2 separate regions of the Homo sapiens genome follow, and region 1 is linked to region 2. The links are contacts of gene promoters, found by promoter capture Hi-C in blood cells and fetal thymus (Javierre and others, 2016). All regions are on one chromosome and are shown on one strand. Each heading gives the region's core, a stretch centred on a gene start or on the middle of the fragment in contact. The rest is flanking DNA. Distances are from core to core; before and after follow the strand shown.

The links. The method cuts DNA at HindIII sites, captures the fragments that hold promoters and counts their contacts. A CHiCAGO score of 5 or more calls a contact.
Region 1: a fragment that was not itself captured here is called in contact with the fragment with the promoter of LARRPM in region 2 in 2 of 17 cell types (erythroblasts and M1 macrophages); the score reaches 5.7 in erythroblasts.

Annotation. Positions count from the first base shown.
Region 1 is chr6:26,627,925-26,631,532 of GRCh38, reverse strand. It overlaps the pseudogene VN1R14P. Among named protein-coding and RNA genes, the nearest start is that of ZNF322, 30 kb to the left of the region's middle. The HindIII fragment of the contact is 2,691 bases long and covers 1-2,664 here.
Region 2 is chr6:27,018,732-27,022,241 of GRCh38, reverse strand. LARRPM (LINC00240 antisense RNA regulating promoter methylation) reads left to right here and starts at 1,936. Exons shown (of 1, transcript NR_026776.1): 1 at 1,936-2,876. The region is part of intron 2 of LINC00240 (long intergenic non-protein coding RNA 240); the gene reads right to left. It overlaps TRI-TAT2-2 (tRNA-Ile (anticodon TAT) 2-2), which reads right to left and starts at 1,896; the gene lies at 1,803-1,896. RefSeq lists an enhancer at 1,932-2,191. The HindIII fragment of the contact is 5,623 bases long and covers 1-3,510 here.

The sequences.
Region 1 (3,608 bases), core at 70-2,569, 390 kb after region 2:
GTTATTTTTAAGACAAATAGCTACACAGTGTCACGTGGCCTTTCCATCTGTTAGACAAGCCACTTAAGCATTCTTTATGCCATCATCATTGGCCTTTGTAACCCCTATTGATCAGTGCTCAAAACCAGAAAACCATTGTGTGCCCTTTACTCCTTTTTGTTTGAATTCTTAATTTAATTTACTCATATTTTCCAACTTAATTTTATCTCAATTACAGCCCTCAAGAATGAGACTGTATCCAGATACATTGTGAAATCTTGCTCTGTTTTGCTAACGGATAATTTTATTAGGTGATTCTTTCTCACGTTCATGGCATTTCACATTCATGACGTTTCCCCTCCTGGGTTTTATGTGCTGGACGAGTGGGTATAGGATGCATCCCCTCTACAGACATCACGAGCAAATACAGCACCTTCACAGGTCGGGCCCCTAATTCAAAATGAACCCTGGGGCCGGGCGCGGTGGTTCAGGCCTGTAATCCCAGCACTTTGGGAGGCTGAGGCAGGCGGATCACCTGAGGTTGAGAGTTCGAGACCAACCTGACCAACATGGAGAAACCCCATCTCTACTAAAAATACAAAATTAGCTGGGCGTGGTGGTGCATGCCTGTATCCCAGCTACTCGGGAGGCTGAGGCAGGATAATCACTTGAACCCGGGAGGCAAAGGTTGCAGTGAGCCGAGATCGCACCATTGCACTCCAGCCTGGGTAACAGGAGTGAAACTCCATCTCCAAGAAAAAAAAGCCCTGGGATGAAAGCAACTAAAGAGACGATCATTTTGACCCTGTGCTTCATTTTTTCCTGTGGGCTTGATATGATTGTTTCCTTCAGTCTAGGTTATTTTTCAAAAACTGAACCTGTTTTTGAATACTAAGAAGTTCATTGGGGTGAACTTTGCCTTTTTAAGCCCTGTGGTACTTCTTTGCAATGACAACCACCTCCACAGATTTTGGGCATCTGCTTTGAGAAAATGAGAAATCAACAACCAAAAAGAATGCAGTTCAATAATCATAATTCAATTACAAATATAATTATCTCAACTAATAAAGAATAAAACCTGATCATCCAGGCCAGACACAGTGGCTCAAACCTATAATCCAGCACTTTGAGAGGCCGAGGTGGGCGGATCACCTGAGGTCAGGAATTCAAGGCCAGCCTGACCAACATGGAGAAACCCCATCCCTACTAAGAATATAAAATTAGGTGGGCATGGTGGCGCATGCCTGTAATCCCAGCTACTTGGGAGGCTGAGGCAGGAGAATCGCTTGAACCCGGGAGGCAGAGGTTGCGGTGAGCCGAGATCACTCCATTGCACTCCAGCCTGGGCAACAAGAGCAAAACTCCATCTCAAAAAAACAAACAAAAAAACCCTGATCATCCATATTGTCTTGTCCTTAGAAAAATAAATCATAATTCCTCAAGCAGGAAAATAATATCTACTAGTAAGAAAATTAAAATAATTGTTCTGAGTGAAAAAAGCCAATACTAAAGTTTATATACTGTATGATTCCATTTATAACATTCTTAAAATGATAAATTATAGAAATGAACAGCTTAGTGGTTGTCATGTATAAGGGTTGGGGAGTGAGGTAGGTGTAGTTATCCAAGGATACATGATGTATCCATGGGGTGATAGAAATGTTCTGTAGCTTGGCTGTATCATTGTCAATATCCAGGTTGTATGATTGTACTAATTTTGCAAAATAGTGGTTATCATTGGAAGAAACTGGGATTTCTCTGTATGATTTCTTACAACTGCATGTGAATCCACATTTATCTCAACATTTAAAGGTTAAAAATTTTGAAACATTACATTTAAAACGTCTCCTTTGATCATCCTTACTTAAATCTAGTCACTTAATTCCTTTCCAAAGACAGTGTTATCACATTGTCATGTGTCCTTCTACAGACATTTGATACATATGCACATAAAAATATTAAGTAATATTTGGTAAGATGTAGAAATACAGTTGCACAATCTCTTTACACTTACATATATGTTTCCAAGAAAGAGAAATGCAGAAATGATGAGGAGAGATGATATCACTAGGTAGGTGTATATTAACAAATATACAATATATGAAACAATAATGGTAAGTGATTTACACAGAGTGAACAGCCTACTGAACAATAATATCACAAAATTTGAGAGGAAAGTTGTAAGACAAAAGTGTTCTAGTGTCATTCTATTGGGAGAATTGTAAACATGTTGATTAATTTTAATTGTTTAATTATGGGTCTTAAAGTTTTATGACAAATGCAAAAAGTAATAGATATAGAATATAGAGCTTCTAAACAAATGGGACACAAAAATTGATTTTGAAGAAAAAAAAAAGTACAGCCATCTCTCAGTAGGTGCAGCAAATTGTTTCCAGGACCCTGTGGTATACCAAAATCTGGACTTACTCAAGTCCAGCAGTCAGCCCTGCAGAACCACGGAAACTAAAAGTCAGCCCTCCCTGTAGGCAGATTTCACATCCCACAAATACTGTATTTTCCATTTGCGTTTAGTAGGAAAAAAATTCACGTAACAATGGACCTTGGTAATTCAAACCAGTGTGGTTCAAAGGTCAACTGTATAGCCATAAAAGACAAGAAAAAATGAATCATATTTTATATTGAAAAAATATTTTATATTGAAAAGAGAAAACTGAGTTCTAAGCTTGCAGTGGGAAAAGCTAAAAATCAGCCTAAGTTACACCACAGGATTTTCTAAAGACTCAGAAATTTATGACCATAGGTACTTCTGGATCTGAGGGATAATTGGTGAAGGGCTAAAATAAGGAAGAATGTATAAAAGCTCTCTCTCTCTCTTGTCTTTCCAACCCTGGCAGAAAGAGGATGAAACAGATAGTATCTTGAATGAAGGACACAAGGCACAGATGATGTGATGGGTAGCATGGAGTGGGAGGATGGAAATAGAATTATCACACAAATTTATTCATGCTAGCTACAAAATCGTGGCAGTCTTATCCAACTCTACTGCCAGATTTCAGGCTAGGCAGTCCTTAGCTTCCAGGCATGTCATTGAAAGAGTTCTACTTGGTAAATCTGACCAAGTGAAGAGGAGAGCTGTAAAGAAACGAACATCATCAATGCCGAAAACATGGCCCTACCACATTACCCTCTAGTGAAGATCACTGTCAACAAGCCCCACTACATTTTAAATGTTGCCAGTTTTTTTGTTTTTTTTTTGTCTTGTTTTGTTTTGTTTGAGATGGAGTCTTGCTCTGTCGTCCTGGCTGGAGTGCAGTGGCGCGATCTCTGCTCACTGCAACCTCTGCCTACTGGGCTCAAGCAGTTCTCCTGCGTTAGCCTCCTGAGTAGCAGGGATTTCAGGGATGCGCCGACATGCCCGGCTAATTTTTGTATTCTTAGTAGAGATGAAGTTTCCCCATATTGGCCAGGCTGGTCTTGAACTCCTGACTTCAAGTGATCCACCCACCTCTGCCTCCCAAAGTGCTAGGATTACAGGACAGGCGTGAGCCATCGTGCCTGGCCTGCTGCCAGTTTTTAGCCTATGATTTTTAAACATGGATAGATCAAATAAGAAACACCAGGCATCTGAAAAAAATCTGAAATAAATGAATGGGAGGGAGAACCATGGA
Region 2 (3,510 bases), core at 687-3,186:
TGTAGCTAACTATCCCTTACTTTATACTATAAAGTAAGGTATAGTATAAAGTACTATAAAGTAAGCTGCCTACAGACATCTACCAAAAGCACCCAAAGTTGTGTATCACAAAACTGGCTTAAGCCAGTTCACAAAAATTCTTTATGGCAAAGGTCACCATTTTTTAAACACTGTCTGAAGACACTCAATAATACCTTCAACTGATCAGGAACAGAGATAAAATAATTGAATTAAGGTGCTAAATCTATTCAGAAAAAATATCCAAAAGTTAATATAAGGCAAAAAAAAAAGATATTAGTACTCTTTCAAAATAATACTAGAGCATTGTCTAACAAGCCCACTGAAGGGGCAAGTAATCCTCTAAGTTAATGGAACTTTTGGAGGTCACTATTTACTAATGATTAGAAAATAGATTACAAGGTTAAATGTCATTATGTAGAATATTAAGTTTTGAATGATTTTTACCCAGTAAAGATGCAACTAGTTTCTGTCTTTTAGATAAAAATAATCCCAAAGGCCATAGTTTTCACTGCCTCATAGGACATTAGCTAGTTTTTTACTTAAACTTGCAATCTCATGTCAGCATTATTTTTCCCCCACTGACTATACCTTTACCAGCCTTTTCTATTGCCATTGCAATCAGTTTACCATACTCCTCCTTTTCTCATTAGTGACTTAAATAAATATTTGGTGATTAGTTACTATATATATATTTGAAGATTATGCTTTGATAGCTTTTAAGGTACTCCAGTGGCTTAGCAAGAGCTACAAAGTGAGAAGGTGTTCACTTTATTATCATCTGGTGCATTCCTGAACGGGACCTCGCTAACCTTTCTCAGGAGAGAGTCTGTGAGTGGACAATGTCCAGATACATGCAAGACCCATTTAGGAATACAGATCTCAAGAGAGAGTTATCTGTGCTCAGCTTAATTCCACTCACCTCCGTGTCCCAAGTGGGACACATGTGCTTTCAGATTTGTGGCAATCTTTATAGCTAGGAAAACAACTCCCAATTACTCAGTTCAATTCCCTCTCTTGCTGAAGAGTTGGGAAGCATATGATAAAAGCTATGTCCAGGCAAACTGCAGGTGTCATAGGGAGAGGAAGCCTATTTTAAAGTCAAAATCCCTATCTACTTCCTACCCACCTCAGCCACAACAATATGCTTATTCTTGTAATGCTGTTCTAAAGATTTCAGGTTTCTGGGTCTATTATCACTCATCCTTTTCCAAGTCCAGGTAATTGAATGCCTGAGGACACCAGGTGCTGTTTCTCAGTTGATAGAAGCTGCTAGATCTTCCATGACTGTTGATTTTTATCAGGGTAAAATTAAGTGGGGGAAAAATACTGGAGGGGACACTGTTGTCAGAAATCAGTCCCCCCACACCCCTCCCAATCAGAGCTTTAATCAGACAGGAACCTTTTACTATTTCCCACTTTTGAGTTTCCTTAAATGGAGTTCAATGCTTATCACCTGATGGGAGTTTCTTAGCACTAAGTATGTGCCAGGGGCTCCCCGAGGAACGATGATCGATGATCCTAAGAACAAAGTGGAAAGAAGGATGTAAAGAGATGATGTTCTTTACCTGAGATCGACGTGCAGAACAAAGTGGAGATAGAAGGTAGCTAACTCACTGCGGCGCAACGGATTTTGTTGGTAATTGGCGTTGCTTGGTTCTAAAAAGGCTAAGGAAACCAATAACAATAAACTGTGTACACAATTCCAAACACGTTAAAGACGATGGAGTCGGATTACAGGGGGAAAGGCACTTCAAGTAATGCTATTTTGGGTTGGAAAACAATGCTCCAGGTGAGGCTCGAACTCACAACCTCGGCATCACTCGCACACATACTGCCATATAAGTACCGCGCGCTAACCGATTGCGCCACTGGAGCACCCAGTTTCTACTTCCGGTCACTCCTTACACAGCCTACACAGGAACATCCGGCGTGTTTGCTCTGGTCGTCACAGCACCGGTTCCTCGGGCGCGCGCCCTTAGTCCTGGGGCCGCTTCTCCCCCGGACGCGTGCGAAGGCGGACTGGGTTCCGCTGCGGTCTCCACGGGAGCCACCGGTCCTGAAAGCGCGGAGCATGCTTTGTTTGCGGAAACGAAAGCGAATACTTCTTTCCAAGGAGACTTAGGAAAGGGCAGACGCTCCCACTGCCTCAGGTGTTCCCTGGAGGACCTTCAAGTGGCCGCCGTGTGGGCGGGCTAGCGTCCCGCTGCTGCGCTGGTTCCGGAGCCCTTCCCTTGCCTCTCCCAGGGTCCTTCTCCCAGCGTCGGAGGAAGGCCCGCAGTCTGCGAGTGGAGTGCGGGTGGTGGGAATCCCTGGGAGGATTACGAAATCCTTAAAGTGGGATTTACCAAACGCATTCCTTTCCGCTCACTTCCGTTCCCGCTTAACAAACGTGTTGGAAACGTGTTGCTACTGAAAGGAAGTGGCGCTGGGCTGCATTTTCTGTGGCTAGTCTGCGAGAAACAGCCCTGGAATAGGGCCTCTATTTCTTCCTTGGAGCATCCCTCCCCGGGACCTGGGAGTTGAAACTCTAGGCTAAAGCAACTGAAGCAGGCCCAGGACTGGGTCTCTGAAATTCATGGTGTCTCTACGCTGAGTTAAACTAAGTTTTTCAGAAAATGTCTAACTAGGCTAAAGACCTTGTGCTTCAGAGTGTTTTGAGAGGAGAGTTTGGGGAAAAGGGCTCTCTCTAGAAGGTAAATTTGTATGGGAGATGGGGAGTGTGTGTTTACACGGAGTATCGGGCGTCTTTCTTATGGGTGGACATTGTGGATAAGAATGAGATATTAAGGCAGAATTAGCTGGGCTTTTAATCCCAAACAGTGTTTTAAAAATAAAAACTATATATTTAAGGTGTACAACATGATGTTTTGATACATGTACACAGTGAAATGATTTCTACAGTCAAGCTAATTAACATAATACATCTCTTCACAGTTACTATTTTGTGTAAGTGGTGAGAGCGCATGAAATGTACTCTCCGCAAGTTTCCAATGCACAATGCAGTATTAACTATAGTTATGCTATGCATTACATCTCTAGACTTATTCATCCTATAGAACTGCAACTTTGTATCCTTTGACCAACATCTTAACCATTTCCATACGTCTCCACCCCTGGTAACCACTGTTCTACTCTGCTTCTATGTATTTGACTTTTTTAGAATCCACATAAGAGATCATGCAGTATTTTTCTTGCTGTGTCTGGCTTGTTTCACTTAGCATAATGACATCGAGGTTCATCCATGTTGCAAACAGCAGGATCTTCTTTATTAAGGATGAATAATATTCTATTGTGTGTATAAACTATATGTGCTTTATCCATTCATTGGTGGACAGCCACTTAGGTCGATTCCATATCTTAGTTATTGTGAATAATGTTTCAATGAAGATGGGCATGCAGTTATTGCTTCGAGATCCTGATTTCATTTCCTTTGCGGATGTGAACACCGAAAATTTGAGACACGTTTCAGTTAATTTAGAAAGTTTATTT